Linked DNA regions of Homo sapiens: regions 2, 3 and 4 are each linked to region 1. The links are contacts of gene promoters, found by promoter capture Hi-C in blood cells and fetal thymus (Javierre and others, 2016). All regions are on one chromosome and are shown on one strand. The core of a region is centred on a gene start or on the middle of the fragment in contact, and the rest is flanking DNA. Distances in the headings are between cores, read along the strand shown.

Region 1 (5,323 bases), core at 1,945-4,444:
GGTCTCAAGTGATTCTACTGCCTCAGCCTCCCAAAGTGCTGGGATTACAGGCCTGAGCCACCATGCCCAGCTGAATTTGAGCTTTTTAATAATCTCATTCCACATAGCCTTATAGATCCTGTAAATAGGGGGGGTCACAAAAGTAATATATTGTGTTATGGAAGATAATTTTGTACTGTGCTGTTTCCTAAATCATACCAATATCCTAAAGTCATGCACTTCCCAGATGATCGTGATCCTCCAAATGCTTTGTAAGATGGGGCAGGGCGTGGAAATATATATATATACACACACACACAGAGACACACACACACACAAGTATAGTATATATTTTCCTAACCTTTCTTCTGGGTCCTTCCTCAGATCTTTGAGTCACGATAGAAAAGGAGCTCGAGTTCTTTGTGTAGGAAAGTTAAGCTTCCTGCCTGCGGTGTTCTTGCAATTGCCTTAGGAATTCACAAGCTCTAGGAGTTCTGAACGGAAGGCAGACGAGAGGCACTTTATCCAGTCCCAGAAAGAATCTCTAACCGTGTGACTGAGAAGTCATCTAGAAAAACTTATATTTTTAATGTAAAAACAAATGGGGCTTACCAGACCTCACAGAGTATTGGACGTCTACAAGTGCTTTTATATTTTGTAACTGTAAAGAAGTTTCATATGCACAGAAGAGCAGTTGGAAATCTGGTCGACTGCAATAAAACAAGATGACCTTTGCATGTACAAAGATGTTGCATTCAGACTATGAAAATAGCAAATAAAGCTTTGGTGCAAGTTGCATTGGAGAAGTCGGTGCGTCCATGTGTGAATGAATAGAGTCTCCCATGCATGCAGGCCCTGACTGGGGCTGGCTGAGTCAGTCTGTCCTGTGCTGAGCTGTGGGCCAGCCAGCGAGAGGGCAGAGCTGGGGTCCTGGGAGAGGGTGTCCATGCAGAATGGGAGGCCATGGAAACAAGGCAGGATTTCCATTCAGACTGACAAGGGGTTGAGTCCTCCTCCTGCCACCCTCTGGCTGTGGGATTTCTTTTAAACATTGGTTCTCCTTAGCTATACAATGGGAGTGGTGATCAGGACATTTTTGCAGGTAACAGTTTAAGGTGGTGGTTCTCAGCTGGGTGGATTGTGCCCTCCAGAGCATGTCTGGTAATGAAAGGAGGCATTATTGGTTATCACAAGAAGGAGAGAAGATGCTCCAGGAAGTGAGTAGAGGCCAGGGATGCTGCTCAGCATCCTGCAGTGCACAGGACAGCTCCCACCCCGACCCCACCACAAAGAATGACCCGACCCCAAATGGCAGTAGTGTCAAGGTTGAAAAGTCTAGATTGGGGAGATGTGGTACATCAAAGTGCTGAGCGTGCAGTAGGTCTGCAAGGTCCTCAAAGATGTGATGGGAGGGGGAGCCACGCCATCCCCACCTCTGCCTTCCTCCTTCTGTCCCAGCTGGTGGCAACTACATCCCAACTCAGGGGGTCCAAACCGACTGCTTTCTGTGACCTTCAGCAGGAAGTAGCCCCTTGGCTTGAACTGTCCAGAGTAGGCAGGATGCTGGGAATAAAAGTCAAAAATAACAGATACTGTGCGCAGTGCTTTGCTTGCATGACCTCCCAAAATGGCCCAAGTGGAGAGAAGGTTCTCCATTTATGGTGAGGAGACAGTAGCTCTGAGACCTTCAGGAACTCGTCCAAGGTCACACACATCTGCCTGACTCAGAGTCCAGCTGTCATCCACAGCATCTCACCACCATCTCCCTCTAGGGGGTACAGGGTAACTGTGTTTTTGTTTGTTTGTTTGTTTTTTGAGACGGAGTCTTGCTCTGTTGCCCAGGCTGGAGTGCAGTGGTGCGATCTCAGCTCACTGCAAGCTCTGCCTCCTGGGTTCACACCATTCTCCTGCCTCAGCCTCCCATGTAGCTGGGACTACAGGCACCCGCCACCACACCTGGCTAATTTTTTGTGTTTTTAGTAGAGACAGGGTTTCACCGTGTTAGCCAGGATGGTCTCGAGCTCCTGACTTCGTGATCCGCCTGCCTCGGCCTCCCAGAGTGTTGGGATTACAGGCGTGAGCCACCGCGCCCGGCCTGTAACTGGGTTTTATGCTGACTTGAGGATTTTAGCCAAAAACAAATACCAACAACAACAAAAGAAAACCTTGTTAACTCACTCCTTTGCTCCAATATAATTTTATTCATAAAATAATCACTTATTAGATATTGATTACAGGCAAAATTATACTTTGTTAGACACTTAAAAAATTCCTGGAAGCTGGGTGCAGTGGCACGTGCCTGTAGTTCCGGTTATTCAGGACACTGAGGAGAAAGGATTGCTTGAGCCCAGGAGTTTGAGTCCAGCCTGGGCAATGTAGCAACAACCTATCTCTAAAAAATAAAATAAAAATACCTGGATCTACCTTTTTTCTTTGGTCATAAATAAGTTGACTGTGATGGTCACTTTTATTTCTATTGAGGCTAAGATCCCAGGTCCTGGAGCAGGCCAGCCCCTTCTCTCTGCTGTGTGATTCTGAGTAAATGGGTTCACCTCTCTGAACTCAGTTTCTCCATGTATAAAGTGGAATCAGAATTCCTCCCCTAAGGATGGCTGGATGAGAATTCCATACAATGCTTGTGAAGCTGGCACAATGCCTTGCGTGTAGTAGGTGTTCAAGAAATGGTAGCTATTATTCGTGCGTGTCTTCTACATGAAGAAAGTCAGTCTGTGAGTTCTGTGACGGCATCCTATGGAAACGGTTGGGTGGATTTGCGCCCAAGTTGGAGAGTATGGTTAGCGTGATCTGACTTAAAACTTAGGCCACATGGCACATGGAAACTGGAGAGTGTCTGGGGTCCCTCACTTTAAGAACTAGAATTTTTCCAAAGGTTGCGTGTGACTCAATAGGAAATGGTGACCCCAAGAAACCAAAGAAAGGGAGTTGGTGGTTGTGGGGAGACACGGGAGAGCTGCACACCGTGCCCCTTGCCTGGCGCTGCTGGGCTTCCCACAAAGCCAGTGAGGTTCATCTGTCCCCAGGAAGTCATCAGAGACGGTGGCTGAGGAGACAGGCACTGGGGGCCTCCGTGGACCCGCTATTGGAGTGAAGTGGCCTGGATGGAATTGGGTGGACAGGGTGCTGCCTCAGCAGGCTGGGATGTGCTGGGCTGTCAGAAAGTGCTCATAAATAGCATGCCCCTTGCGAAGACAGGCGAGTCTGCAGACGGCCGTGGCTCCTCTGTTCTTCCCGAGGCTACAGCAACAGGTTCATTCTGGGATGGGTTGGGGGTGGGGAGGCAAAAGCCACCCTGGCAGGCCCGGACCTTTTGTAGTTTCTGTGGGACGCGCATGGCTGACCGCCTGCAAAGAAAAACAGCGCCTCCCTTAAGGGTCAGGTCCCAGTGAGAGGACCCTGACAGCCCAGCTGGGGGTGGAACGAGGGACCCTTGTCTGCAGTGGCCAGGGTCCAAGCCCCTGGACATGTGCTTAGGGCAGGGGACCTTCCAAAACAGCTCCTCTGAGGGAGGGGAGTGGGCACACATGGTACCTGCCAAGTCCCCCGAGAGTCCCCTGTGAGCTGGACCAAGCCCTGTTTCCTGCTGAGGCTAGGAGAGACAGAACCGACAGCCCGCAGGCTGTGCATGGTTAGGCCCACATCCAGAGTATGTGGGCTGTGCAGCTGTGCATGCTGGGGTGGCCGTGCTGGGAGCCGTGGGTGGGTAACAGTTGGATGTGGGGTGTAGATGTAGGTGCCTTGTTTACCACTGTGGATGTCTGAAATGGGCAGGGATGTGTGTGTGTGAGGAGAGAGAGAGAGAGAGAGAAAGAAGCTGTCCTGTGAGCCCATGGGTGAAATATAACTGATAGTGACCATAGAAACTTTTGCGAGTGTGTGCACCTATGTGTGTGTGCTGACAAACAGAACAGTCCTGTGTGTGTCCATGGGTGCAACAATGATGAGAATCCTTCCATGTGACTGCGGCAGGGGCCTGTATTGCGTGTCACTGTCCCTGTAGCAATGAAGAACTGTCGGTGTCTGGGTCTTGAAGTGGCTGGTACACAGTCGTGTTCAATAAATGCTTAAGGAATGAGTAACCGAACGCAGGGAAACTGACCTGGAGCAGGTGTCCAACGACCTGGTCTTACAAGCCTTTTCTCTAGAGGTCTGTCTGTCCACCTCCCGACATATGGGGTCTCCTGTCCCTCCTGGTCACCCAGCCCAGAGCCTGGCACTGTGTAGGTGCTCATGGAATATTTGTTGAATAAAGTAACCAGTGAACAAAAGAGTTCCTGGAGTACGGAGGTGGGAGAGACCCCTGTAGAGGAAACTCCCTGAAGCCCACCCTTTAGCCAGGTTCTGGGGGTGGGACATCTGCAGAGAGCTCTGAGAAACCTGGGTTTCGGGGAGCATCTGGATCAGGGGAAAAGGGCACGGGCTTTGGAGCCAGGCCCGACCCAGGCCACTTCCTCACTGTGTGCTTGAGGAAGTGGCCTCACTTTGCTGAGCCTCAGAGTTCCCCTCTGTACAATGGGGCTCCTGATCCCACTGTCTCAGTCCACGTGGCCCATGGCAGGTGCTCAATGGATGTTTGCTGAATGACTGAATGTCGATCATAAGTTACAGCCACGCCCCATGGGCAGCAAGGCTCTGTAGCTCATCCTGGACTCCAGTCACATCAACACCTGGCTTCTCCCGGGTGGATCCAGTGAACCATTTTCTTTTGGTTTGAAGCCAGAGGTGTTCCTGGGGAGATGGCGGAACAGCACGGAGCACCCGAACAGGCTGCAGCTGGCAAGAGCCATGGAGACCTTGGGGGCAGCTACAAGGTACTGGGCAGGGAGGGGGTCAGAGGGCCCAGGCTACTCCTGGGCCTCAGGGTCATCTTCCCAGCCAAGCAGCACCTCTGCAGGAAGGAAGAGCCATCCTTCCAACCACCCAGGCCAGGACAAAACGCTCCGGGTGGGTCCTCTCACTGCCACCCTCCCGTTAGAAACTTGCTTCATGACTTTGCTGCATCTTCCCTCGTCTGCAAAACAGAAATGGTCACCCACATCCTGCCTGCACCAATGGATCAGAGAGGCCCGGGGGTTTCTGGAAACGGCTCTGAGCTCTGACTCTCCTGTCTGACCTCAGCCTGGTGTCTTGCCCACTCTGGGGAAAAGGGCACAGGGTTTGGAGGCTCTCTGGGCCTCAACAGCCCCATGTTTGAAATGAGGATGGTGCCCAGATATTGTGCCCAGAGTTGGTGTAAAGGCTGAAAGACATGAGTGAAGCCAGCTAGCAGAGGGAGGCACACTAGAAATCTGAGAGAAGGTTTGAATGTGTTGGCTCTGCCCTTTCC
Region 2 (5,979 bases), core at 3,258-5,757, 570 kb after region 1:
CAAGTAGGGACAATATGGTCAGATTGGAGGCTGGGGTTCCTTGTTGAGGAATTTGAAAGACCAATGGTGGTGCCAAATGATTTTCCTTTAGGCTGTGGGCAGCTACCCAAATCTTTTGATCTGGTATAAAATGGCTGGCAGCAAATTGAAGGGACAGCAGTTCACGGGCTGTGGCAATGGCCCAAGTGAGGGATAGCGGACATGAGTTTGGAAAAAGAGACATAGATGTGAAGCTTGGCAGGGTGGAATCAACATGCCCCTGGGACTGGTTTGAATGCAAGAGGAGGGGGAGAATCCCAGATTCCCAGGCATGGGTGTCTGTGAGGCTGTGCTGGCATTGTCCAAGATGGAAGAACCCAGGCTAGGGCTGGTGGTGAAGCGAGACATCAGGGTAGAACTTGCTTATGAGGTTGAGGTCTTTTTCTGCAGAGATGGAGGCACAGCTGGACCTGTGAGCTCTTCAGGCCATAGCCAGGCTGGTTTGAGGATGAAGCTCTGCACAAGGCTAAAATCACAAGGCAGTAACAAGGCCTGGGAAGGGAGCAGGCAGTGGAAACCCCTTGGGTGTTATGCAGTCACAAATGTCTGGGTCAGGCAAGAGTGGGGGACCCCAGGGGCAGAAACCAGGGCCCTCAGCTGGTATGGGAAGTGTGATATGGGGATCAGGGCAGTGGAAGTAGCAGCAGCTCGGTTTATTCTTCTCTCTCTGATCTCCAAAGTGCATTTCTACATCTCATCCTATAAAAGATCTGGATGGTCAGGTGGTATCTGCCTGTACTGGGGAAACCCGAAGCCCAGAGAGAAGAGATGGTAGCCCAGATAGACATAGAAGGAAGCCTAGCTGGAGAGTGTTAGAGCCAAGGTGAGAACAGGTCCTCTAGTGACAGGCCCTGAGTCCTTTCCTGGATCCCCTACTCGCCTAGGAAAAATCCAGGCAGAAATAACAACAGTAGTAGCAGCAGCTACTGTTGTTGAGGACACACTATGCGCTGGGCTCAGTTTCTACATATTGTCACACATTCTCACACCTACCCTGCAAGGTAGGCTTTTATCATTCTCATTTTATTGATTAAAAAACAGACTCAGAGAGGAGAAGTCATTTAGCTAAGGTCACACAGCTATAGAGTGTCAGAGTCAGGAGTTGAACTTGGTTCTGTTGGGCTCCAAAGTCCACTCCTTCCACTCCATCACTCAACTTTGAGGGGCTAGGCCAAGGTCAAGGGTGCTAGGCTTGGCCATGCCTGTTGGATTTGGAGGTGCTCGAGCATCTGTGGAAGGATGAATGGAGAAGTGAACAATGAAATGAATGAACGAACACGAGTGAATGACAAAGCTGTCAGGTCAGCAAGCAGCTATGTAGGCATGGTTGTGTTCTTTCTCCCAGATCCCAGAAATTTCCATCAGCCAACCCAACAGCAAGTCCAGCAGTGGCACCAGATCTGGAAGCCAGCAGATCTCTCAGGACGACCAGTCAAGCTCTCCTGGGAGCTCAGACATTCTGGGCAAGGAGAGCGAGGGGTCCCGCAGCCCCGACCCTGAGCAGATGACAAGCATCAATGGTGAGAAGGCCCAGGAGCTGGGCTCCAGTGCGACACCAACCAAAAAGACTGTCCCCTTCAAGAGGGGCGTGAGGAGGGGTGATGTGTTGTTGATGGTGGCCAAGCTGGACCCGGACTCAGCCAAGCCAGAGAAGACTCATCCCCATGACGCCCCCCCTTGCAAGACCTCTCCCCCCGCCACAGATACTGGAAAGGAAAAGAAAGGGGAGACCTCTAGGACTCCTTGTGGCTCCCAGGCCAGCACCGAGATCTTGGCCCCGAAAGCTGAGAAGACCCGGACTGGGGGTCTTGGGGACCCAGGCCAAGGAACTGTGGCACTGAAAAAAGGCGAGGAGGGTCAAAGCATAGTGGGGAAGGGGCTTGGGACCCCCAAGACCACAGAGCTGAAAGAGGCTGAGCCCCAGGGCAAAGACAGGCAGGGGACCAGGCCCCAAGCCCAAGGGCCCGGCGAGGGGGTGCGACCAGGGAAAGCAGAGAAGGAGGGAGCAGAGCCCACAAACACGGTGGAAAAGGGGAATGTCTCTAAGGACGTAGGGAGTGAAGGGAAGCACGTAAGGCCCCAAATCCCTGGGAGAAAGTGGGGAGGTTTCCTGGGAAGAAGGAGTAAGTGGGACGGTCCCCAGAATAAGAAGGACAAAGAAGGGGTGCTCTTAAGTAAGGCAGAGAAGACAGGTGAGCCTCAGACCCAGATGGAGAAGACAAGCCAAGTGCAGGGCGAGTTGGGGGACGATCTGAGAATGGGGGAGAAAGCAGGTGAGCTTCGGAGCACGACTGGGAAGGCAGGTGAGTCCTGGGATAAGAAGGAAAAGATGGGGCAACCCCAGGGTAAGTCCGGGAACGCAGGTGAAGCTCGGAGTCAGACAGAGAAGGGCTGTGAAGCCCCAAAGGAGGTGAGCACAATGGTGGAGTCGCCAGCAGCTCCTGGGAAGGGAGGCTGGCCAGGAAGCCGTGGGCAGGAAGCAGAGGAGCCCTGCTCAAGAGCAGGTGATGGGGCTGGTGCCCTGGAGACAGAGCTGGAAGGACCCAGCCAGCCTGCTCTGGAGAAGGATGCAGAAAGGCCTCGGATACGGAAGGAGAACCAAGACGGGCCAGCCCCGCAGGAGGAGGGCAAAGGAGGCCAGAGCAGAGACTCAGACCAGGTGAGGGGGCTGCGGCCCTGGGAGCGGGAAGCGGCAGACAGGCCTCTCCAGAGATGCAGGGATGGGAAAGATCTGCCCCAGGGATGGACAAGGGGTGGACGGGGGGTGGGCAGGGAATTGGAGAGGGGTGGCTGGAACTGCAAGGCACCCAGAGGAGGGGACGAGCACTTCCTCCATGAGCAGAAGTCTTGAAGTTTCCATTGCACCTGCCCTGGGGTGGGAATTCCCCACAGAGTGAGGGAAGGTCCCCAAAGTGTGAGGTGTCTCCTCACGGCTGACATGGTAGAGCTTGCTTATGATGTCACACGACAGCTTTCAAACGGGATGGCATAACGAGTAGATTGTTAAAAATGCAGATTCCTGGGGCCAGCCATGGAGTCTCTCATTTCAAAGGCCAGGAGTGGGGCCCAGGAATCTGCATTTATGTAGTATTTTTTTTTTTTTTGAGACGGAGTCTTGCTCTGTCACCCAGGCTAGATGGTGCAGTGGTGTGATCTCGGCTCCACCTCCCGGGTCCGCAACGGGAATCTGCATTTAAATAAGCACACTCCCTCTCCTGTTCTCCCCCAGGAGATTCTGGTTTAGATGGCTCCAGAGCACACTGTGAGAAACCCCCGTGTAAGGTAGAAGATGGGCAGCGGTGCCATTTGCTGGTTTAATTTACGTGATGTTGGTTCTCAGGCTCCTGAGGACAGATGGTATGAGGCAGAGAAAGTCTGGCTGGCTCAGAAGGATGGATTTACTCTTGGTAAGTAGGGGTGTTAGCACCTTTGGAGGGTCTGAGTCTTCTCCTGTGCCCCCTACTGCTGCCAGCCATATGTTCCAGGTCCTGATTATACTTTGGTGGTCAGGAGGGAAGAGGAGCAGTGGAGACTGTCTTTCAAAGGCATTTGTGTCTTGATAATGAGTTATTTACCTACTGTAACTCACTAATGCAACAAGCATGCTTTCTTCCTACGGCGTTCTTCGAGGAAGCCAGAGTCTGGTACAAGTGGGCCAATAGATTTGATCTCATGAGCCTACTTTTGTCGATTGGTTGTGGCTGATCACTGCACTCTACTGAGAAGTGATGCTGAGTCTCAGTCTGAACATGGCTGGGAAGAGTGGTTGATTAGTGATGTCTGCCATGGGCACTGGAGGGGGAAATGGCAGTCTGTGTGTGAGATAGGCCAGTGTACCCAACTGTCTGGGTGCCTGCTCTGTGCCTGGCACTGTGACAGCTGGTAAAAGCCTAAGGTGAGTCAGACTTAGCCTGACCTTAAAGGATTTGGGGTCACAACTCAGCTCCAAGTGAATAGACCCCAAATGGAGACCTGTCCCAAGCCTTCTCCCAAGCTTGCTGGCCCGGCTTAGAGCCTCTCTTATCTCCTGCCCTCGCCTCTTTCCCCTCTTCCCCTCCCATCTCCTCCCCGTTCCCCTTCTCTCTCTGGGATGTCCAACCAGCTACGGTGCTAAAGCCAGATGAGGGAACAGCAGACCTGCCAGCAGGAAGGGTGAGACTTTGGATTGATGCTGACAAAACCATCACTGAGGTGGATGAGGAGCATGTCCATCGGGTGAGTCCCCTGTCCCGCCGTCCCCCAGCATGAGTCCCCTGTCCCACTTCACCCCAGCTCCATACCCTCCTTCCCCAGTCCTGCAAGAGATTTCCTTGTTCCTGACTACCAATACCATTTTGGCTTGATGCCCTGGAGGGAGTTATAGTGAAGAACCCCACTGAACTCATTGCTCTACTGGAGGGGTACTATTAGGGGGTCATTCACCCTTTCCTGTGGTTTCCCTTAATGAGGACACATCAAAGAACATGTTTGTCAGGTCTTGGCCCTGGGAGTTCTTCTGATGGACCCAAGAAAATGACTGCTTTTAATTTATAGATATTGGATATTGCAAATCATACTACACAGCATGTTTCTGTTTTCACTCTGGCCGCCAGGGAACTCAGAGCCAAATTTGCTGCTTGCCATTAACCATAGCATAGGTTCTAATGGCCTATATTTTGGCATCAAACTTTCTTTCAGCTTTGCTCTTTAAATTGCTTTGAATACATTTTTGTTGTGCACCATAAATCCTTTTGAGGACAAGTCCCAGTGTAGTGATAGAAAAGAAAGGTTCTGTCATGCCCTTTCCCCCCGCCCCTCACAGCCTGCTATCTTAGGAGTTTTCCTCCTTGCTCATCTGCATTCCTTTCTGCTCCTCCTCTGCCCACCTCAGGCTTTCTCTCCCGCGTTGGGCATTTACAGAGGCTCAGTGGCCTTGCAAGAAAGGCTGATCCATGAGAGGGCTCAAGCTTGGCCCAAACCTGAGACTACCAGGTTCAGAAAACTCACTGAAGCTGGAGAGAATAATAGGACGCCTCTTAGAACAGATGTTTTAAGAAGCAGCTTCACATAACCCTTGCTTCTAAGGGTTTGGGTGGTTTCCTAGGAATCAATGCATGATGGGCTATGAGACCAGTGAGGTGGTTTGGCCATTGGCCTCCACTCCTGGGTATCATGGAGCATATTGAGAGCTTCCTCGTAAGACCCAGAAGAGGAGGAAATGGCAGCGGATGCTCGCACACACTGGAGCATCACCTGTCTTTTTGTGGTGTTTGAGATCCAGAAAGTGTTTTGAATTTTGTCAAGTCTGCCTTGGGAGCGTCTCCCCTCATGGTGCATGGAGTGCAGGACCACAGCGAAGAGGGGGTGCCTCATAGGTTGCACAGAGGGCAAGGAGAAGGGATGGCCCTATTTTATTTGTAGGGCTTCATTGCTTTCCATCCAGAGTCCCTGTGCTCTGTTCTGGTCTTTGGCACATAGCTCTCAAGAGGAGGGCTTAGTGTGTGTTTGGTTGCGGGGGGGTGGGGTGGGGGCAGGGGGCCAGAAGGCCAGAAGGCCAGAGGAGACTCTGTGTGATGGTTTCACAGGCCAACCCTCCTGAGCTGGACCAGGTCGAGGACCTGGCCTCTCTCATCAGTGTCAACGAATCCAGTGTCCTGAACACGCTTCTGCAGCGCTACAAAGCTCAGCTGCTGCACACCTGCACAGGGCCTGATCTGATTGTCCTCCAGCCCCGGGGGCCCTCGGTGCCTTCTGCAGGGAAGGTGAGGTGGGACCATTGTGGGCAGGGCTGAGGGGCTGAGGGCAGGGGGGCCTGGGGGGATCCCTCTGCATCTGAGGTGACAGTAGAACCATCAGAGCCCCCAGTCGACCTGTCTGCAAGCAGCATCCTTCTCGCGGCATTGTGGCATCCTGTGGCATGGACCATGAGATTCCCCCATTCCCTGGAGGGAAAGATCAGTC
Region 3 (5,260 bases), core at 1,421-3,920, 590 kb after region 1:
GTAAGGGCTCGTTCATGTTGACTGTTTTAATATTATCCTTGAGTGAGGTCGCTCAGCTGATTAGAAGATCTGGGGTTAGTCCCTGCTCTCCTGATTTTCCTCTACAACCCTTTCTCCTGGGATTTCCTGGCCTTTAGGAAGGGCCAAGTGAGGGCTGTGCGTGAGGAATATTTGGGAGATTGAAGATATCCCAGGGCAGAGTTAGTGGGGCCAAGGCCAGGGACAGGGACAGCCCCTGGGGTGTCCGGGCAGTTGTGTGGAGCCTCACACTGTGACGACCACCTGCCCTGCCAGGGCTGGTGTGGACAGCCCCCCTGACTCCTGGTTCCTTCTGTGCTTCCAGGACGGAGCTGAACCTGCACCAGATGGCAGATAGCAGCTCCTTTGGCATGGGCGTGTGGTCCAAGGTAAGGAGGAGGTCCCTCACGGGTGGGATGTGAGTCTGTGTCTGGGGCTAGATGGGAGGGTGATGAGTCGCCGTGCAACTTGTCTCTTTTGGTACTGGGGTTCATAGTTGGCAAGGGTTGGTCATGTGGAAGAGTTGGCACTGCCTTTGTAGGGTCTCGGCTTATTGGGTAAAGAAGACTCAGACAAATAAAGGAAACCAGACATAGTATACGTAGAGGTAGGATTAGGGCCCTGGAATCAGTCTAGTTCAAGCCCCAGCTCTGACACTTGTTACGTAGGTGAACCTCAGGCATGGACCTTAACCTCCTGGTAGGTCTGTCTCTTCTTCAGTACAGTAATGATAGTAGCAGTATCTGCCTCATAGGGTTGTTGTGAGGGTGAAATGACATGATGTGTATAACGTGCTTAGAACAGGGCTTGGCCTAAATCAATCAATAGGGTGCTCTTTGTCAGTACTAGTGGTGGTTAACTTGGGTAGGGGCACTCAGCGATGGTTTCCTGATGAATATAGTCTATGAGTGGGGCTGAGAGTTAGGTATTTCATTGCTTAAAAAAGCAAATGGTTCACTGGTTTGATATTTTATTATTCAATTATTTTAACCATTGTTTTCTCCCTTCTCTCGCAAATACCTTCATCACCACCTATGCTGGGCCTGTGTTGTGTTAGGTGTATGTTCCTGCTGAGTGCTAGGAGTATGATCCTCATCCATGGATTTTCACTTTAGCAGGAGACACAGACTTGGAAATTAATGCAATCATGTGAGATAAGAATATGTCAGAGGTTGCATGAAATGCTGCGGGCACCACAAGATAGCTGATAGAGCTACTTGGACTTTGCCAGGGAAGACTTCTTAGCCAAGGGAACATTTGGCCTGGGTTTTGAAGGATGAATAGGAGTTCACCAGATGGAGGGAAGTAGATAATTTCCACTCCAAAGCCTCTTTTCAAATATACATGTCTGGGAAACAAATAGTGCTGGAATAATTGGATATCCTGGTGCAAAAAAAAAAAAAATCCATATTTCACATGATATACTAAAATTAACAAAAAATGAGTCACAGATCTAATTGCAAAACTTCAAACCACAAAATTTCTAGAAGAAAGGTGAGAAAAATCTCTGTAACCCTGAGCTGGGCAAAGATTTCTTAAATGAGACATCAAAATCCCAGTCCATAAGAGAACAAATTAACTTTATCAAAAGGAACAGCATCTGCTCTCTTAAAGTCACTATTAGTATGAAGAAGCAAGCCACCGACTGGGAGAAAATATTTGCAAATCACTTATCTGATAAAGGATTTTTATCTAGAATATAAAAGTAATTCTCAAAACTCAACCCAACAAAAAAGATGGGCAAAATATGGAACATACAAAAAAAATGTAAATGGATGGCAACTAAGCACATGAAAATATGCTCAACATCATTGGTCATTAAAGAAATTCAGCCAGTGCGGTGGCTCACGCCTGTAATCCCAGCACTTTGGGAGGCCGAGGTGGGCAGATCACCTGAGGTGAGGAGTTTGAGACCAGCCTGGCCAACATGGTGAAACCCCATCTCTACTAAAAATACTAAAAATTAGCTGAGCGTGGTGGCACATGCCTGTAGTTCCAGCTGCTTGGGAGGCTGAGTCAGGAGAATTGCTTGAATCCAGGAGGTGGAGGTTGCAATGAGCAGAGATTGTGCCACTGCACTCCAGCGTGGGAGACAGAGCGAGACTCTGTCTCAGAAAAAAAAAGAAAAAAGAAAAAAAAATTGCTAAGCCTGTGTGCGTGCAGGCGCGCGCACACACACACACACACACACACACACACACACACACAGTCTGTCTTACACAGTGCTGAGTATTATCTGCAGAGTTTCTAATTCAGTAGCTCTGGGTGAGGCCTGAGAATGTGCCTTTCTCACAAGTTCACAGCAATGCTGATGCTGCTGGTCCAGGGACCCCGCTTTGAGAACCACTGTTGTAGAGTCTGTTTCTGCACTGGGTGAGGTGATGTGTCTGCCCCGTCTTTGAACTCTGGGGGCTAATCTACTTGTCACCTTATAAGTATGTCCCAAATATTGTATGGGCAAGCCTGGAGAGTTGGGGGCATATCAGAGAGGCTGCTTGGAAGAGGTGACCAAGAGCTGGCCATGAGAATGAGAATGAAATTTCTTTCATTCTCAAAACTCATGCATGAAACAAGCTGGAATGAGAATGAAATGAACAGATGCAACGAGGCTGGCATTCTTGCTAAACCAAATACTAGGGGGGCAGCTTCTTTACTTGGGGGACTCAGCAGTGTGTTCTTTTTTCATACCCTTTACCCCGTGATCTGGGGTCATGAGGAGCCCAGACCTCCACCTTGAAGGCAAGAGATGAGAAATTACCTCAGCACTGATTTTTCTCATTCATTTAATGAGCTTTGGCCCAAAATATCCGTATGAATCAGCAGAAGAGTAGTTGTTTATTTTCCTACTGTTTTTGAGAAGGAAAAGGACCCAAGCTGGGGTCCTCTGAGCTTTCCCCCAACCTGACCTGTTTGTTAACAGTCTGCATAAAGCCATTGGTCACAGCGTGAATTTGTGTCAAAGAAGCATTTGAAGTGGTTTGCTTTTTTTCCTCTTTATTTCTGTGGGGCATTTTTTAGACCAATTGATTTGCAGGAACTGGTAGGGTGTTTCTTTGTTCTCTCTCTGCTACCTGGCAGGTATCAAGAGAATGTTTTCTCTGTTCTTTCAGAAGAAAAATAAAGTCTGAAAATTCATTGGTCTTTGATACAAGCCTGGGCTAGTTACTGGGGTCGGGCAGGCCAGGTACAGCTTCATTAAGGGAATCTGGTGATCAGGATATGTCCCCCAATAATGGGAGTTGCTAAGTCCCCAAGGCTGTCAGGCTTAGCAAATCATACAGGATGCCCAGTTAAATGTGAATTTCAGATAAACATTGAATAATGTTTTAGTATAAGCATGTCCCAAATATTGCACAGGGAAGCCTGAAGGGTTGGGAGCCTATCAGGGCAGGCTGCCTGGAGGAGTGGACCACAAGCTGGTCCTGGAGTGAGAGTGAAAGTAGTCAGATGCAGTGAGGCCAGCATTCTTGCTGTACCAAATATTGTGGGGGACATATTTATGAAAAAAATTATCCATTGTTTATCTGAAATTCAGATTTGACTGGATGGCTTGCATTTTCTTTGGCAACTCTACAACCCAACTTCAACCCAACTTCATCCCTGGCTGAGCCCTCCTCCTTCCTTCTCCTCCTAGCCAGCCCCCGTACTATGATTAATTCTGCTTCTGTTTCATCTGTAACAGCTGGTTCCATCTCCACTGAAAACTCACTGGCGACAGTGGAGTCTGACGTAGTGATGTTCGAATCCCAGTACCAGCGGTTAAGCTGGGTGGCCTTAAGCAAGTGACCTCATCTCCTTGGGCCTCGATTTTTTCCTTTTCGAAAACTAGGAGAGCAAGAGTCCACCTTGACCTCAAATGAAATGAGATAAAGCCAATGAAGTACTTCGGCAGTGCCTGACACTTCCAATGTCAGCCCTTCTTCTTCTTCTTTCTTCCTTCTTTCTTTTTCTTCTCTTTCTCCTCCTCCTCCTCCTTCTTCTTCCTCCTCCTTCTTCTTCCTCCTCCTCCTCCTCCTCCTCCTCTTCCTCCTCCTCCTCCTCCTCCATCATCAAGGATGGCAGCATTGGGCAAGTTGGGAGGGCTTAGCCTGCTCCCCAACAGCAAGACACGCTACCTAGCCACTCAGTTCCCATTCCATGTTCCTTGGCAGCACGTCTTGTTTTCCCTCTTACTGAATTTATCTCTATTCTCTTCTAATTCATATTTTTAATGAAGCATCTGTTTAAAAAAAAAACAAAAAACTAAATTATGGCTGGGCTCAGTGGCTCACACCTGTAATCCCAGCACGTTGGGAGGCTGAGGCGGGCGGATCACCTGAGGTCAGGAGTTCGAGACCAGCCTGGCCAACATGGTGAAACCCCATCTCTACTAAAAATACAAAAATTAGCCAGGTGTGGTGGCACGTGCCTGTAATCCCATCTACTTGGGAGGCTGAGGCAGGAGAATCACTGGGACCTGGGAGGCAGAGGCTGCAGTGAGCTGAGATCACACCACTGCACCCCAGCCTAAGTGACAGAGCGAGACTGTCTCAAGAAAAAAAAAATAACGAAATTACTACATACTTCCTATGGAGAAATCAGAAAAAACACAAGGGCAAAACCAAAAACCAGAATACACACACACACTCGAGCAAACCAGAAAACAAGCGCCATTCACCTCACCACCCTGAGAAACCCACTGGTCCTATACCTGCAGGTGTTCTTCCAGTATTTTTCCTGCAAATATTTTACATAATTCATAACAAACTGTATATCATTAAAACTTTCTGGCCGGGCATGGTGGCTCATGCCTGTAATCCCAGCACTTTGGGAGGCCAAGGCAGGCGGATCACCTGAGGTCAGGAGTTTGAGACCAGGCAGACCATTATGGTGAAACCCTGTCTCTACTAAAAATACAAAAATTAGCCGGACGTGGTGGCGGGTGCCTGTAATCTCAGCTACTCAGGAGGCTGAGGCAGGAGAATCGCCTGAATCCAGGAGGCGGAGGTTGCAGTGAGCCGAGATTGCGCCACTGCACTCCAGCCTGGGCGACAGCGTGAGACTCCGTCTCAAAAAAAAACAACAAACTTTCACAAATATTATTTTTAATGACCAGACATTCATGGAGGGGACGTGGTTCACCGAACTGCTGTTTCCCTAATGTCCATTTACATGGTTTTATTTATTTTTATTTTTTAATTATACTTTAAGTTTTAGGGTACATGTGCACAACGCGCAGGTTAGTTACATACATTTACATGGT
Region 4 (5,485 bases), core at 1,569-4,068, 540 kb after region 1:
ACTAAAAATACAAAAATTAGCCAGGCATGGTGGCAGGTGCCTGTAATCCCAGCTACTGAGGAGGCTGAGGCAGGAGAATCGCTTGAACCTGGGAGGCAGAGGTTGCAGTGAGCAGAGATTGTGCCATTGCACTCCAGCCTGGAGGACTAGAGCAAGACTTCATCTCAAAAAAAAAAATTAGGGATGATCAAGAGATAGAAGTCAATTGTCCATATAAAATGTCACAATCCCTTGGCTGTTTTGTGGATCCAGAACTCCTTAGCCTAAGGAGAGGCCAAATCTCCAGGGGAAAGGAACAACAACCCCACAGCAGGTATGTAAAGTGATGATTCCCTTGGTCTTTGCCCAGACAAACCCACAGCCACTTGAACTGTCCTGACACCCAACAGAATAGCACCACGATCCACTCTTTCCATGACACCACGCCAACTGGATCAGATGAGCCCAAAGCAGCCGGTTCTCTGGATGCCTTGATAAGAAAGCCTCCACCTTCTCGTCTTTTCCCCCAGCCTGGGGAATGAAGCCTGGAGACTGGACAGTAAATGCTCAGCTGGGTGACAAAATCTTGCTTATAAGGGCTGCCCTAAATCACCGTGTGCTCAAGGTAATACTTGGTCATCTTGTGTAGCAAAAATCCACCCACCACAGGTACCAACAAGGTGAATGGAGCAAACACATGCCATGTTGACTCCTTGGGGAACGGAGGTCCCTTCAAGTCAACGGAACCATCACTGCAGGTCATGGCCTATAGAGAGTCCCAGCCCTGGGCCCAGAGAATCATTTCTGCATGTCAACTCTACCACTTCAGACCAACAGCGTCGGAAAGACAGCAAGGACAGAAAAGCCCAGGAGCCAATGGTTCAGGACTTGTGATGCAAGGGGCGGGAGAAGGGAGGTTCTTGTTTCAATGTCAAATGATCTAGCACAACCTGGAGAAAACAGCTCACCGGGACCTGTCTCCAAACTCTTCCCCTGGTGTGGCCTAAATGTCCCATGCCACTCTCCACTGGGGGCCGCAGGGACCCCTCCTCAACCTCATGTATATTATGTATATTGTATTTTCTTTTTCTTTCTTTTCTTTTCTTTTTTTTTTCAAAATGTAGTTTTGCTCTTGTCGCCCAGGCTGGAGTGCAATGGCGCCATCTCTGCTCACTGCAACCTCTGACTCCTGGGTTCCAGCTATTCTCCTGCCTCAGCCTCCCGAGTTGCTGGGATTACAGGTGCCCGCCACCACGCCCAGCTAATTTTCGTATTTTTAGTAGAGGTGGGGTTTCACCATGTTGGCTAGGCTGGTCTCAAACTCCTGACCTCAAATGATCCACCCGCCTTAGCCTCCCAAAGTGCTGGGATTACAGGTGTGAGCCACCATACCCGGCCTAGACTGCCATTTTCTAAGCAGCCTTCCCTTAGTGTTTCAATGAACTTCTGATTGAATGCTAATTTTCAAGACCTCGGCAGAAGTGAGTACTTTGGGAAAATATTGCTCGATGAGCTCTGGGGAAAGAGGAGCAGCACCACATAGCAATTATTGAAACAATTCTCACAGGAGCAGTATCATGCTGGGCTGATTGCGGTCTTTGGAACCAGAAAGACTTGGATTTGAGTCATGACTCTACCCTTTGCTAGCTGCATGGACCTGCATGGTTTATCCAATTTATTGAAGTCTGTACTTTGCTCCTTTTAGGCAGTGGACAAAGCACTTTTTTTGTTGTTGTTTTTTTGAGATAGAGTCTCTTATCGCCTAGGCTAGAGTGCAGTGGCGTGACCTTAGCTCATTGCAACCTCCGCCTCCTGGGTTCAAGCAATTCTCCTGCCTCAGCCTCCCAAGTAGCTGGGATCACAGACAACCACTACCCCACCCAGCTGATTTTTTTTTTTTTTTTTGAGATGGAGTCTCTCTCTGTCACCCAGGCTGGAGTGCAGTGGCGCGATCTCGGCTTACTGCAAGCTCCGCCTGTAGCTGGGACTACAGGCGCCCACCACCACGCCCGGCTAATTTTGTTTTTGTATTTTTAGTAGAGACGGGGTTTCACTGTGTTAGCCAGGATGGTCTCAATCTCCTGACCTCGTGATATGCCCACCTCGGCTTCCCAAAGTGCCGGGATTACAGACGTGAGCCACCGTGCCAGGCCCAAAGCACTTTTTTATAGCCCCTAGTTTGCTGTTGTGTCTGTTTCCTCTACGGCCCGCACAGCCTGGGTTTGAATTCTGGCTCTCCATGGCCTTGGGCAAGTTGGTTAACTTTTTGTGTCTCAATTTCCCCACTTGTAAAGTGGGGCTGGGGAAAAACCCTACCTCATAGGGAACATTAAGTGAGTTCATGAAAGCCCTCGGTGTGTGGCATGCGATAACCACTACCTAAGCATAAGGTATGTTTACATGCACTGGTTGTTTACCACGACGCACCAGCATTCATTCAAGTTATTTTCTTCCAGAGTCTGCCTGGAATGTAGAACCGGCCAGCTCTCCTCCTCAAACAGTTCCTGCAACCTCTGGTTATCTGTGTGGGCAGAGGCGGGAGTGTGGGTGTGTGGCCCTGCCCTGGGACAGGGATGACGAGAGAGCATGTGCTTGTGTCCAGAGCTGTCCCCTTCCCTGCTCAGGGGCCACCAAATATGTCCATGGTCTCTGCTGCCTGGTCAACGGCCACCCCGGGCTGCCGTCTCCTGGCCAGACCTGGAGCTCACAAGCTAATTTTAGAAATGACTGGTCGACTCAGCTGCTGCTATCACATTGGCCCAGAAGGAGGGTGGGGGGAGGACGGGTCGGGGAGGGGCAGTAAGGGGAAGGGATGTGTGTCGGTGTGTGTGGAGAGGGTGCTCCTTCGCTCCTGCTTTCCCGGCTCGGTGGGGTCCCTTCGCGGCCACCCGGGGAGACGTCTTAGACAGTCGTGGTTCCTGTGATCTGTGTCCTCTTTGCAGAAGGTACTATTGGGCTGGGTTTTAGACGGGCACCTTGCGAGCGGATCGGCGAGTTTTAATTTTCCGGAATGCGCTGCTGGGGGCTGCGGTGGCAGGCCTCCGGTCTTTTGGTCTATTTTAGGCCTTTCTGGTGTTGAGAGCTTCCGAGGCCTGATTCCTTTGCCTGTTGCCCGTGCTGCTCACTTTGAAAACAAGAGTGTTTCGGTGGAAGGATTTGAGAACAAAATGCTGGGGCAAATGGACATTCGTAAGAATCACTCTCCTCAGGCCCCAGCTGTTCGCTAATAATTTTTAAAAATGTGTTTAGAATCATGAGTTAATCTCCACTGTGAATCTTTGCCCGCAGACGTCAGGGTTTATATTTTTCCTCAACTACCAGTAATTTCTGCTTCACTGGTGTTCAGTTATGGTCGGGGAAGAGCCAGGCTTCCCCTTTCGTGTTAACAACGCTGTTGAGTCGAAATGTTAATTTTAATGTTCTTTTTTAAACTGCAAATTAAGCATGTATGAGTGTTGGGGGAAGGGCAATGGAAGTTCATGGCTGAAGGTTTCAATTTCATGCCACCTTCCTTGAGCTCTGTCTGAGGGAAGGTGTCTTATCTGGCACCCCGGATAGCAGGCATTTCTCTGAATGAAGAAGATTCACAGGTCCCAGTGGCCCCATAGTGGGGCAGAAGGGGGCTATGCTTTGACATGGAGCTCTCTCCCAGGAGAGGAGAAGACCTCACCAGCTACAGGCCTCTGGGCTGCTGCCTTCCTGCAGCTTTTCCATGGAGGAGGCCAGGAGTGGGGAGGCCCGGAATGGGGAGCCCAGTCGGCTCCCAGTCGGCTCCAAGCTGTCCAGTCTGGCCTCAACCCGCAAGTGTGGGGATCTGGGCTTCTATCCTGTAGGGCCTGGAATACGACGAGGCTGTTACTTTCACTTTGTGGCTGTCCAAAAAGATGCTGCCTCATTCAGTGCACCAGCTCATGGAGGCTGAGTGTCCCACTAGGGCTTCTAGACTCCAACAAGGATAATGGTGGCCTTGGGTGCTGTATCCATTGCTGACCTAAGTTGTATTCTCCTATGCCTGGGTACCATGTCCAGTGTGTACCTTGGGAGCAGAAAAGAGAGGGGTCTATATACTCTTAGGCTATGGATGAGTTCTAGAAAATAATAGTGGAGAGGAGAGAGAGAAAAGAAGGAAGAGGAGGAGGAGAAGGAGAAGAAGAGAAGGAGGAGGAGGAAAAAAGCAGGAGGAGAAAGAGAAGAAGGAGGAGAAGAATAATAGCAAAGGAAAAGGCCAAAAGAAAAGGCCAAGTGGGTGGAGGAGGGAGGAGAAGGAGGAAGAGGAGGAGGAGAGGGAGTCTCCTGGTCTCCTGGCTTTTGAAGGGCTGCATGTTACCAATCAACAAATATTTGATGTCACCTGCCTCCAGGCCTGGTCACCTTGAATATCCTGGTGTGGGCTCTGTAACCTTGGATGAGTACTCTCCCCAGTCGGAACTTAGTTTCTCCTTCTAAAACCTGAGGGGGTTGGGCTAGACCACCTCTGGGATCTTTCCTAGGATTCAGCATCCAGGAAGGTTTTTCTTGAAGTGACGGTCGTTGACGACCTACCCATCAGACTCATGTGGGGCAGGAGGCGGGGGGCTGTTTTAAAATGCAGATTCCTGGGTTCATCCTAGACCTTTTGAACAGTCTTGGGGGAAGGGGCCCAGAAATCCACAGATTTTAAACCTCACAGGTGGTTCTGGTGCCCACCCAAATTGGAGAAGAGCTTTTCCTTTCACTTGAGCTAACAAAACCACAGAAGGCTGTTGCTCAGCACCTGCCCTGTCAAAACTCATGGAATTTCCATGTTTCACAAACATGGAAAACGTGCACAGCACTTTATTAGGGTCTAACTATCGCAAAGATTTTATTGGGCAGGTGTTCCTCCAGGGGTAAGATCAAGACTTTCTATGGCATTTTGAGGTGGGAATGGAGGGCCCCCAAACTGAGCAGAACCACTTCCAGCTGCCAAAAGATAGGGACCTGGGGCTGTGAGCCTACAAGGCTATGGGGAGATGGCCCTTCACTGGGTCCTGCTAGATACAAACAACTGTCTGAATGGCCCATTTGAAGCACATGGTCAGCTGCTGTGGTGTGTGGCATATCTTTAATATTTAAACAAAGTGGCCGGGCGCGGGGGCTCACGCCTTTAATCCCAGCACTTTGGGAGGCCGAGGTGGGCAGATCACGAGGTCAGGAGATCGAGACCATCCTGGCTAACACGGTGAAACCCCGTCTCTACTAAAAACACAAAAAAAAATTAGCCGGGCGTGGTGGTGGGTGCCTGTAGTCCCAGCTACTTGGGAGGCTGAGGCAGGAGAATGGCATGAACCTGGGAGGTGGAGCTTGCAGTGAGCCGAGATCACGCCATTGCACTCCAGCCTGGGGACAGAGAGAGACTCCGTCTCAAAAATAAAAATAAAAATAAAAATAAACAAAATGAAATTAAATTTTCTGAAAAATGGAGGAGGTGGGTTTGAGACCAGGGAGGATCCCCCTCCCCTCCAGAGTGCTGCCAAATCCAACCCCT

What was found. Contacts are between HindIII fragments. The CHiCAGO score rates a contact against its expected background, and 5 or more counts as called.
Region 2: a fragment that was not itself captured here is called in contact with the fragment with the promoter of CRYBB3 in region 1 in 2 of 17 cell types (M0 macrophages and M1 macrophages); the score reaches 12.2 in M0 macrophages.
Region 3: a contact is called between a fragment that was not itself captured here and the fragment with the promoter of CRYBB3 in region 1, in 2 of 17 cell types (M0 macrophages and M1 macrophages). The highest score is 7.8, in M0 macrophages.
Region 4: a contact is called between the fragment with the promoter of MYO18B here and the fragment with the promoter of CRYBB3 in region 1, in 2 of 17 cell types (M0 macrophages and erythroblasts). The highest score is 9.3, in M0 macrophages.

Annotation. Positions count from the first base shown.
Region 1 is chr22:25,196,664-25,201,986 of GRCh38, forward strand. It overlaps CRYBB3 (crystallin beta B3), which reads left to right and starts at 3,195. Exons shown (of 6, transcript NM_004076.5): 1 at 3,195-3,246; 2 at 4,714-4,808. The coding sequence starts at 4,734. It overlaps KIAA1671, which reads left to right. Exons shown (of 13, transcript NM_001145206.2): 13 at 1-785. The HindIII fragment of the contact is 15,596 bases long and covers 759-5,323 here.
Region 2 is chr22:25,766,731-25,772,709 of GRCh38, forward strand. MYO18B (myosin XVIIIB) reads left to right here. Exons shown (of 44, transcript NM_032608.7): 4 at 1,385-2,698; 5 at 3,380-3,446; 6 at 4,142-4,254; 7 at 5,604-5,780. Among named protein-coding and RNA genes, the nearest start is that of MYO18B, 28 kb to the left of the region's middle. The HindIII fragment of the contact is 952 bases long and covers 4,032-4,983 here.
Region 3 is chr22:25,785,085-25,790,344 of GRCh38, forward strand. MYO18B (myosin XVIIIB) reads left to right here. Exons shown (of 44, transcript NM_032608.7): 11 at 344-407. Among named protein-coding and RNA genes, the nearest start is that of MYO18B, 46 kb to the left of the region's middle. The HindIII fragment of the contact is 7,595 bases long and covers 1-5,260 here.
Region 4 is chr22:25,739,370-25,744,854 of GRCh38, forward strand. It overlaps MYO18B (myosin XVIIIB), which reads left to right and starts at 2,819. Exons shown (of 44, transcript NM_032608.7): 1 at 2,819-2,924. The HindIII fragment of the contact is 14,245 bases long and covers 1-5,485 here.